Regions from separate parts of the Homo sapiens genome. Here region 2 is linked to region 1. The links are contacts of gene promoters, found by promoter capture Hi-C in blood cells and fetal thymus (Javierre and others, 2016). All regions are on one chromosome and are shown on one strand. Each heading gives the region's core, a stretch centred on a gene start or on the middle of the fragment in contact. The rest is flanking DNA. Distances are from core to core; before and after follow the strand shown.

Region 1 (5,669 bases), core at 857-3,356:
CCATTATACAGAGTAAGGCAAAGTATTGTGAAATTACAGAAAAAATAATAATTGAATCCAGTAGAAGTATCTGCAGATGCGGTCCAAAGGAACTGGTGTCCTGGCTAAGACGGAGCCAGCAGTTATGGGCAATGATAGTGTTCCATGTGGAGAAAATAAAGTGATCAGATACCAAGATGGCAACACACAGGCAATATTCAGGGAACACAGACCAGATACGTGTGATCAGGGAACAAATAAAGAGTATGGGGAGAGGAATTCTATAGAAATAGAATGAAAGAAACTTGGGTTGGGACTAGAGTTAAAGAACTTTAGACTGTCAAGTAATGACATAGCATTGAACATTTTTTAGTAGAGTGGCTAAAATGTAAAGAATGGACAGAAAGAACAGCAGTATGCATTAATTTCAGTTTATATAAACACTACCATGGACCAGGTGTTGGGATTAGACTTCAAATTTGGGGATTAGATAATTTGTTGATAGAATGGACAATGGTTTGTGAGGAGAAGAAAGAGGTGAAGCTGATTCTGCAGTTCCAAGTCTGGGTGACTGGGAGGATGTTAATGCCAGTCTCTAAGCAGAAGCAGGTTTGGAGTGGAATAGGTTTCGTTTTGGGCATACTGTTGACATGACAAAACTGATGTCACATATCCTATTTCCTGACTCCTCCTGGGATTGTCCCAGAGCTATTACCATGATTAATAGTTCATATTGAACAACTCCTTGAGAATAAAATGCCACAGGTATCATTTACGTATGACACATTACGTTCTTCTGGCAACTAGGTAGTTGATCTGAAAGACGGGCTGTTCAAAGTTCAAATCATCTTAATTGCACAATGCCGCCGACTGTACGCCCATAAGATACCTTAACCCGGTACACTTCAAAGACAATATTCTCGCCCTTACAACAGAGCTATACATTGTAAACTGCAAACTGAAAAGTAGCCTTTATTCTGAAGGAAAATCAATTTAATATTCTTCCACTAAATTATCAAAACAATTTTTTTGGCGGAGGCTGGGGAGGGGGTGGTGGCTGAAGCCTCGCCAGAGACTGAATGTGGTGTGGGATTCAACTAAAGCAGCACATCTTCAGTAGGTCCCCCGTGGAGGGTAACGAACATCTTGGGTTGTCTTTCACCAGAATTGTGTTCAACAACTCACGTTCTGGAGCCAACCCGCCGCAGATCAGAATCCAGCTTCTGCACCACACAGCCGTGATCTCGGACAAGTTACTCAATCTCTTGTGTCTCAAATTCTTTACCTATAAAACATCTACAACTAGAACTGAAGACTTGGCTGCCAGGCACTGGGCTAGACATAGATTTACAGCGGTGAGGACCACCAAGGGGAGCTAAAATTCGAATGTAGGGAACAGACGATTAACAAGTTAGTTTCAGAATGAAAGACTCGAGTGTAAGAATTCAATGGGATAATTCCTGTAAAGCGTTTAGTACAGTAAAGAGCGAAGGGAAATTCTGAATAAAAGGCAGACACTATTTTAGGATTTGGCCTTCCCCGCCCCCTACCAAAACCACGTAAACTCTTAACAGAAGCGACTTCTTATTGTCAGGCGCCTAAAGGCGGCTTTTGGGATAGGGAGGGTCCTTTCTTCCTCCTTGGGGTAAATGCGATTTAGCAGCCTTTACCGACCTACCCAACCCCAGGGCCATTTTGTGGGAGGAGGTTCTCTCGTGCTAGACAAGTTCCCTCTAATAAAGCCCCTTAGCCGAGATGCCAGGATTGGGGTTAGGGAACCTCGCCGCTCCCACAAGGGCTGGGCACAAAAAACAAACAAAAAAACACAAGTTATTTTGATCTTCCCCCAAAGAATAGTAAAGGAATTTCCCCCGACCCCGGCCGCCAGGAGCCCAGAGACCCCCCAGCCTAAATAACAATGGCGCTGGAGAGGGCGTGGCCGCGCGTACCTGGGGTGGGGGAAGGGGAGAAAGGCGGCCAGTTCGGATCTGAGCCACTCGCAGGGTCACGTGACATCCTGCCTCGCCCCGCCCCGCGAACAAACCTAGGCGGGGAGGGATTCGGGAAGGGGCGAGGAAGCGGAAGGAGCAGGCGGACTGGCGATGATGGGAAGTGACGAAGTGGCGCAGTTCGCTGCGTGCAGCGACGTGGCGGCGGGGCCGGCACCGGGCAGCGGAAGTGGCTCCGGCGGTGGGACTTGAGTGTTTGTGTTTTGGTTCGTGAAGGAGCCGGCGGCTGGCCTTAGGGGAGGAGGCAGAGGGAGGAGGAGGAGGAAGAATTAGTCGGAACTCCAGCGCCGGCGGCGGCGGCGGCGGCGGAGGAGGAGAAAGGAAAGAGGAAGGGGGAGCGGCGAGAGGCGGAGACGGAGCCCGACAGGGGCGGCACCACGGCACGAGCCCCGCACAGTCCAGTGTGAGGGGAGCGGCGCTAAGAGCAGGCGACGCCGCCGCCGCCACCACCACCGCCATAGATACACTCTCATCCTACGGGCCACGCCTGGGCCTTGCTGCCAGGAAGCTTCGGCCCCGCAGCTCGGCTTGCTGCGGTCTCAGGTAACCGAACCGCCCCTCCTCCTGCGCAGCGGGGGCCTGGACCCCAGGTTATCCGCGGTCCCCAGCCTGTCCGCGGCCCTGCCGGTACTGAGACCCCCCACCCCTTCTCCCTCACGCGCAGCAGTGCCCTGGACCAGAGAACTATCGAACCCGGCGTCTTGTTCTGCCAGCCCTGGTGACTCATCCTCCAGGGGCTCTGGAGACCGGGATTTGGGGACTGACTGAGGGAGCGACGGGTGTCACCCTTTCCCTTCTCAAGATGGCGCCGTGGAAAGTGTACTGGAGGCCGCGGTTCCGCCTGGTCTCCGTCCTGGCAGTCCTGGGGGTCTCGGTCAAAGCAAGGCAGGTTCGGGGGAGGAGGTTGGAAAGGCCAAGGGACCTGGCGAGTGCTGCTTATCCAGGCGATCTGTAGTTGGCTATTAGCTACTCAGGTGCTCTCCAAGCAGGAACCTGGGCCTACTGCAGGTGTCAATGTGGGGAGCTCCGCCTATCTTCAACTTCCAAAGATGAGTAGTGTCGGTGGGTGGGAGGCTCGTCAAAATAGGCTGTCTAGAGACTTGTTTTCTGTTTGGAAGGTAGTGAACTACAGCGTTAAATAAATTCAAGATAACAGGACCGCTGAACTCCTTCACTGGGTAGAGACCATGGAACTTGCTCTGGCGTTATCTTCCCTGGAAGCTGCTTACCTCTGAGACTTTCAAACTTGTTAAGTTCTGAACGTCATAGTTCACATACTTGGTTTTTGTCTTGCTTAAATGGAATCAAAGCGTTCAATCAGTTGCCTTTCACATAATAAGAAAAAAACACTTGTACACCTCTGGGAATACTCAAGACTGCTCATAAACTTTATTCCTAAAGTAAAATGGAAGTGATAACTCAGCATTTGTATAAACAAAGTAAATGGAACAGTGCCTGGCACAAAATAAGTGCCCAGTCAATTTTTTGATCAAAGAACCCTTAGAAGGATTTTAACTATAGAATGAATAACAGTTATTTTCAAAAGATTACAAATGTATATTATGCAAAATTCTTGTTTTGCAAAACAGAAGTTTCAGTAAGCAGTGAATACAAATGAATGCACGTAATTTTTAACCTTAGTGTTATGCTAAGTGTATATTTACCATTAACTTTAGTTATTTCCTGTTTGAGATCCTTAGGGGGAGTAGCCACAATTAAGTAGCTTTAAACCTTAAAAGTCAAAGTGAAATCAGAATCTTGTTTGATTTTTTTTTTTAATGGGAGTCTGATATTTTCCCTAAAATTTTGGAAGTGCCGTAGAAATTTGGAGCATATTGTCCTTGATAAGTAATTTCTTGTTTTCTTAAATAAAAAGACAAATGGAAAATGTTTTGATTGTGTGTAATATCTGAAGATGTATTGGTGCATTTTCAGTATATATGATGTTCTATTGATATTTTATCATTTTCTTATCAAAGGAGCACATTATTGGCAATTTCAATCCCTACTATGTATATTAGAGATTGTTTACATGTATTGTTTTATTTAATTGTCACATCAGCTATGCAAGTTAGATATTATGGGAATAGAAACTTGGAAATTAAAGAGTTTGCCCAGACGGAAATTGGTATAGCCAGGATTACACCCCTAAATCTGGTATGTTTGTGGAGGAGGGGGCATTTTTATTTATACCTTGTTATTTGGAAGCAACTCAGATATTACGTCAATAAATCTGTAAATATTTCAGTATGTAATGGTAAAAGATAAGGACTCTAAAAAGCTGGTGTTTAGTTAAGGCAAGGAGGTAGTTTCATTGCCTTAAGAACTAAGATCTCGTGGACATGTTAGGGAATTCATTATGAAGAGCGTATTATAAGCTCATTTTATGGGAAAGGCATATTTCTTTCTTTTGTTTTTAATATAGAGACAGGGTCTCACTGTGTTGCCCAGGCTGGTCTCAGAGTCCTCCTGCCTCACCCCCAAAGTGTTGGGATTTACCGGTATAAGCCACTCTGTCCAGTGTGAAAGACGTATTTCTTATATGAGGTAGCTAAATGAAATATAGCAGGGTTTTTAGAGAGGGAATCATCAGGTTTAATATATTAGCATGTATTCGGATTTTGATTAAAGATAGAAGGAAACTGTTAAGATTGGTTTGTGAGTGGATTGAAAAAGGTTCTTCAAATATTCACTAATTCCTTAGAGATTAAAAATTAGCATAGAAGTCGCCATTCAGGCTAGATTTCTTTAATGTGTTGTTTAAATAAAAAATAATGGCCTGCAGGCTGGGCGTGGTGGCTCACACCTGTAATCCCAGCACTTTGCGAGGCTGAGGCAGGAGGATTGCTTGAGCCCGAGAGTTCAGGATCATCCTGGGCAACATAGCAGTTAAGTGTCTCTACCAAAAAATTAGCCTGGCATGGTTCTGAGCGCCTGTAGTCTCAGCTACTCAGGAGGTTGAGGCAGGAGGATTGCTTGAGCCCAGGAGGTCTAGGTTGCAGTGAGCTGTGACCACGCCACTGCACTCCAGCCTGGGTGAGAGAGCAAAACCCTTTCTCCAAAAAAATTTTTTTAAAAATGGCATGTATATTGTTCGTCTAAAGACTACAAAAAAGTTACAATTATTGTAAGTAAATAAGTCAGTAATAATCACCACATGGAGAACAACTGTTAGCATTTCTGTGTATGGTGTGCTTGAGCAGATGAGGAAACAGTTTTAAGTCTGCCGTTAGGCACACAAACCTGGGAGACTGAAAATATTTGTTGTCCAAAATTACCATTAATTAAATGAAAAATGCATCGTTTAACAGAAAACTTCAAATAATACTAAATTTTAGGATCTGTTCTAAAAGTTTCCCATTTATTAATAACATAATTTTTCTCAAAACAATGTTAATCCAAGTAGCCTGGCTACAGAACTTGAACTCGAGTCATCTCTCAGGTTGCCTGGGTTTGAAACTCGGCTCTGTCACTTCTGTGACAATAACTGTGTGACCTCAATTAAGCTTCTTAACATCTCTGTGCTTGTTTCCTCATTTATAAGGATTGTAATAATATCTCATTTTATAGGATTGTTGAGAAGTTAAGTACTTAAAGCACTGCCTGGCACAAACTTGAAGCTTTGAGGTTAGCCTTTAAAAAAAAAAGTAATTTTGGACTCACATCCTATACCTTTGAATT
Region 2 (5,789 bases), core at 1,093-3,592, 1.6 Mb after region 1:
AGGCTAGGGCAAATGTATGTGAAAAACATAGATCTACAAGGCCAGGATGTGGGTAGTAACAACATGTAAAAGCATGAACCATTCCAGGAATGGGAGGGAAGTGGACTCTAGCAATTGAATAGAAGTGAGAACTTAGGAGAGGAAAAGACAACTAGAAAGCTTTCAAATCTGGGAAGTGCAGAACTCAAAATAAACGATGATGGTCAGGATGAGGACTGGTTTTTTTCATTTGTTTGTTTGTTTTTTGAATCTGTTAAGTATTGATGCTTGAAAGCCATCCAAGTAAGTGAGCAATGGGCCATGGAAAAGCAGATCTGGACTTAGGAGAAGGACAGGGCAAGAGAATCTTAAGACATCTAAGCACAAGTGATACTTGAAGGAAGCCATGATAGTGTTCAAATAGAGACCATAAGATTGAAGGAACAGACTCTTTGTGGCAATAAGATACAAAATTCTAAATAACAACTAAGGCCATGCCTGACAAAGTTTAAGGCACACACCCCTACACGTAGAGAGTAAACTATGTTCTAACTGTTCTAACTATCACAACATTTTTCTTTTCTCTAGCAGCTAAACAAGCACTGGACTCAAGATAAGCAATATTGAAACAATTGCAGCTCACTGACCACCAGACATTGCCTAACACTCCCCAACTTTTCACAAGCCATAACTACAGCCTTGACTGGACAAGAAATCGACTTCAGTAACTTTCTCTTAATAAGAGAACACTGGCCATGGACTGGTTCTGGCCAGTTTACAGAGGCTGCATATGTAAGTGCCTTCATGTCCCTGTTTCAGCTTTTGACTCAAAGGACCTAATTGTAATTTATTTAAAGTCTCCACCCCAAAATGAACATGGGTCATATGTAACATGAATGTTTCCTTAGTATGCATGCATACATCCCCCCTTTGTCAATATTCATAGCTCCTCCTATATCTCATTGAATATGTATACTTGGCCAACCGTTTCAGCATAAATTCCTGTTTTATCTCTCCTCCCTCGAAGTACCTATTCTCAGACTCTGATGGAGGCTGTGCTTCCCAGACTGTCAGGATGGCCACCCTGCAGGCTGTAACTATAAGAAATAAAGCTCTTCTCTCCAAATTTGTAGGTCTAGTGATTGAAGTTAACAATAGAATGTTATATAATTGCTGACTAATATCTGTTTTGCTTCTCTAGAGGAGAATTATTCTTGCCTGCCCCATTGTAATCAGGCTTGGCCATGTAACTTACCAGTGAAAAGTGAGAGAAATATTACGTGTCAGTCCACTAAAAAGCTCTAAGAGCCTTTTCCCCTCTTCCATAGAATTCTCCAGCTAGTGGTTGCTTCGTCAGCCTAGTCCTGGAGTTAAATTAAGATGAAAGAAAAACCACAGCTGATATGTAGTATGAGTAAGAAATAATTAGATATTGCAAAAGCCACTAGGATTTTAGAGGTTGTTTATTACTGCAATATAACCTAGCCTAACCTAACTGATAAACAATGTGAATGAGATTCCCTAAGAATCAAAAGTAAAGAAAGATCAGGGAATGACCTTGTACAGAACTTATTCAGACAAATCTGAATTTGTCATTTCATAGAAGAACAAACAACACAAGTTAGTTACACTTGCCTAGTTACTTTGAGTATAATTTTTAAAATTTTGCCATTAATTTTTCTAAATAAAAAACTTGGTATTTAAAAACACTTGCTAGATTAGACAATTATTCTGGCTATCTTTGGAAATGCTCTATGAAATATTCTGTGACAAATAGTAACCACTCTTATCAGCAATTTAGAGTGCTCAATATATTTTTTAAAAATATTACTTTTACCTGTAAACTTTTATACAAGTAAATTCACCAACCTAACACTCTTCATTAGATCACAAGAACTAAAATTGTTCTTTAACGTTAGGAAGTGTGTTTTTGCCTTGAGATAGATGAACTAGGCATTCTTTCTATGAATAGTCAGTGGCTGATCACTGAATACAATTTTCTGCTCAGCACTCTAGCAGACTGGCATAATTAGAGAAAAAGGCAACACAAAAACCCAAGATCATAAAGTTAGTGAATAGGAGCTAACCCCATGGTTTAGATGTATGTGTTACCCCAAGGCAGCAGATAAAACCTTATTATTTATACTAATAAATAATATATGACTTGAAAATTTAAGAGGAATTATCAATCAAAATTGTCTTTATATCAGTCAACTAGGTTTACAATGAAAATTTAGTTTCTGTGAGTATTCTTTCTATTTCTTACATTTTAGAGAAAACCGCCAAATCAATTTTCTAATTAAAGGCCATACCATTTCTTCCCCTTTTCACTATTGTTGCCCCAACCCTCTCCAGGGGTTCTCATTTACCAAAGTATGACATGTTTAACATTTTTCAAAGGAATTAGTTTGGGTTTTTAAAATATATATATAATTGGATTACTCTTTTCATATAGATTTTTTAATTAAAATGATTTGATAAATTACTAAAATGTGATTTCATGTGTCTCTATCTTTTATATATGGACAAGCCTACAAATCACAAAAGATTCTTGTGCATTACCAGAAATTTTCTTTTTATTATTAAAAAATGCATGATCTTTGATTCTAGAGTCTTATCTACCTCTTCTTCTCCTTCTGCCAAGTATTTAACTATTCTACAAAATTAGCTCAGAGTCCTTTTGTTTTGAGATGAGGTCTCACTTATTTTGCCCAGTCCAGTCTCAAAGTCCCAGATGCAAGGAATTGTTTGTGCCTCAGCCTTCCAAGTAGGCGAGTCTATAGCCACATGCCACTGTGCCAGGCTCAGACTCATTTTGTTTTCAGAGTTGTGCTAATCAGTATGAGGAAGCACATAGTAATAAAAAGAACATGTAATTGCTTTAAGAAAACTCAAATTTGTTAGCCTAGATGCCTCAGGTTTATACTGCAATACAAATAGAATAAGGGTCTACGAAATGGGTGTCTTTTCTCATAGAGAGTTTTGTGTAAATTCAGTTTAAAGAGAATTTGGCTCAAAATATCTGATGAGTGTGCTGGAACTCTTAGCCTCTCAACCTATATAACTTGCTTTTTTGTTTGTTTTTTTGTTTTGTTTTGTTTTTTCCTGATATAGGTCCTCATGGATTAGGAAAGCAATGTCTTTCCTAATGTCCATCGCTTCCTTCTTTTGGCTTTAGAATATCTGCACCAACTTTACAGACTTTACTATCTCTTCTGCCCTTTTGAAATTTTCTCTAGCTCCAGCTTGGAAGGGTGCTTCATCATCTCAACACCATTTCCACTGTTAGGTAAGTTCTGGCATGTTTATGTTATCTTCAAAAGACAAATCCAAAGTTTGTTACCACTCAACTTCTGAAAGGACAGATCCTGGAAGACTGCCACCCTTCAAAGTTGTAAAAGAAAATAAAATTTAAGGACCCTCTAAATTTATTATGCCAAGGGGTGGGGTGGGGGTGTTAAGCACTGGTGTCTGAGTCACATAACATGTTTGCAATTTCTGCTTCTTTGGGGTTAATTCTCTTCCTCATTTTCTTGTTCTGTAAATGACTAGGAGAGACCAGACACCAGACTGCCTCCCCCTTCCAATTACTGATATTTGTTATATATTAACTACATCCTTTATTGTCCTGTACCTAAGACTAGATGGTGCAAAAGACCCCATGAGTATTAAATCCTCAGTATAAAATGTTAAATATACCTTTCCCAAAAGAATAAGACCACCCCAACCAATGTCAGATTACTGTAACTAAGCATTAAGCCTTATATAGAAAGAGGTGTTGAAATTCTGTTAAACTTCCCTAAACTTTGTCTATAAAAATGATACTAAACTTCTACACTTTGGAATACTGACTTCCATTCTTTGGAATCTGTGTTTTCTGGGCAGCCATTCTCCAACTTAACACTTGGATAAACTCTCTTTAAACTAGATTCTGACCCTTTGGATTATTCTAGGTTGACGTATTCTAGTCTCTAAGTTAAGAGATGAAAGTATCTAGTCACAACCCATTTACTTAACAGAGACAACACACCTGGGGGCTTTTTTTTTTTTTCTTTTTCTTTTTTGAGATGGAGTCTCGCTCTATCGCCCAGGCTGGAGTGCAGTGGCACAATCTCGGCTCACAGCAAGCTCCGGGGGGCTTTTCTTAACTCAAGTTAGCAGCTCTACCTACCACACATATATATATTTTTAAATGATGTGCATCCTTAATGAAACACATATTTTCATATTTTAAAAAAGTCAAGATAACCCAAAGATGAATTGTTGATTTAAAAAGTCTAAAAGTAGAAAAAATTTGGAGCAAGGAAAAACGTCACTTTAACCCTTTACATCAAACTCATCTCTTTGTTCTCCCTACCTACTGCCTTCTTTGCATCAAAAGGCTTCAGGATTTTTCTGCACTTCTCTATGCCAGATGCTGCTTTGGGGATCCCCACCTGTGACCCAATATCCGGGAGCAGAAATTACACTTACCTGCTTCATTACCACTCATTCTCTTTCAGCCCTCAAAATAAAGCAGGTAGTCTTCGATTATTAGAGAAAAGACCAAAGCTTTCCCTAAAAGGTTTAAATCTAAATTAATAAAATGGCACAATCCAGCTCTTGCTCTGGATAACAAAGAAGTGAATATGACAAGCCTGTCTTTTTTTTTCCTCTTTAGTATGTGGTGGCACAAACTTGGCTATATCAGAGAACCAAACCAAAGGAGTGAAATAAGTCTCAGTCATTCAACAGACATTTTACTCAGCATTTATCCCATGCCAGACCAGTTGCCAGCATACAAAGATGAGACATGTATTCAGGCTGAGGGAAAACACAGGGCTCTTAGGGAGGGCAGCATGATGCATCTACAATAATACCTGAAGAAAATACAAAATGCCACAGGAACTAAGAATATCATTATCCCTTACAGATTCACTTGCAGCATCCCCAGTCCTTGGAAGAGCTGATATGTGTCCATTGTGTAATAAGGATGTTACATTGTGTAATAAGGTTGTCGTAATCTATTCTATTCATTCACTGTTTATTTTCTGTTTTCATCAGTCATATCCAGAAGATCCTCTTTCAGTTAAGACACTATCATTGGTGATGATATGAACGTTTCCTTACCATTGCCATTCACATGGACTGGAAAACAATTGAGGTGTAACAGTCTCTGTGTTCTAGAAAGTGATTTATTAGAGGTATATCCATGAATCACAGAGGAATATTTTCTCTGTAGATTTCGAAAACCAGTGGTCTTATATTTAAAATGTCAGCTTGGGGAAACCTCACTAGCTTCCCCTATTATGAATAAGCTGGTCGTTGGCAGGAGCTATCCCAAGGGGCCATTCAGAGGCCATTATTTCACCGTGAAGCCTCTGTTAAAAAGAGTAATTGGTATCAATAACACTTACCTGTGTTTGCAGAGGGAAGGTTACCCAGCCATAACAAGCCCAGTATCACACAGCCACTACTTAAAACAATGCAGTATTTGGAATTTATGACAATAAAGGCTTTCTGTAATAATGCCCTTATTGGGGCCTTCTCAATTCATTTAGCATACTTTGCTGTGTACTCACAATTAAATTAAATCTGCCATGCAGTTATAAGCTAAGGTGCTGCATACAAGATGCAAATGCTGCACACTGAAAAGGTTCATTTCTCAAAAAGAGTTATGGGGTACATGGCTTCAAATGCCTTTTATGACTATTCCTCTGAAACAGCCACAGGACTCTTGCAAAATGCAAAATCTGGAATATAATTAGTGATTATCTTAATCTTGCAGGGGTTTGGAAAAATGAGAGGAAACAATTACCATTATACAGAAA

What was found. Contacts are between HindIII fragments. The CHiCAGO score rates a contact against its expected background, and 5 or more counts as called.
Region 2: a contact is called between a fragment that was not itself captured here and the fragment with the promoter of RAB5A in region 1, in 1 of 17 cell types (monocytes). The highest score is 7.5, in monocytes.

Annotation. Positions count from the first base shown.
Region 1 is chr3:19,944,991-19,950,659 of GRCh38, forward strand. RAB5A (RAB5A, member RAS oncogene family) reads left to right here and starts at 2,107. Exons shown (of 6, transcript NM_004162.5): 1 at 2,107-2,531. It also overlaps a transcript of EFHB not described here. RefSeq lists enhancers at 988-1,589, 2,000-2,169, 2,095-2,264, 2,126-2,175, 2,696-2,745 and 1 more. The HindIII fragment of the contact is 3,439 bases long and covers 1-2,494 here.
Region 2 is chr3:21,504,953-21,510,741 of GRCh38, forward strand. The region is part of intron 4 of ZNF385D (zinc finger protein 385D); the gene reads right to left. Among named protein-coding and RNA genes, the nearest start is that of ZNF385D-AS1, 35 kb to the right of the region's middle. The HindIII fragment of the contact is 4,371 bases long and covers 158-4,528 here.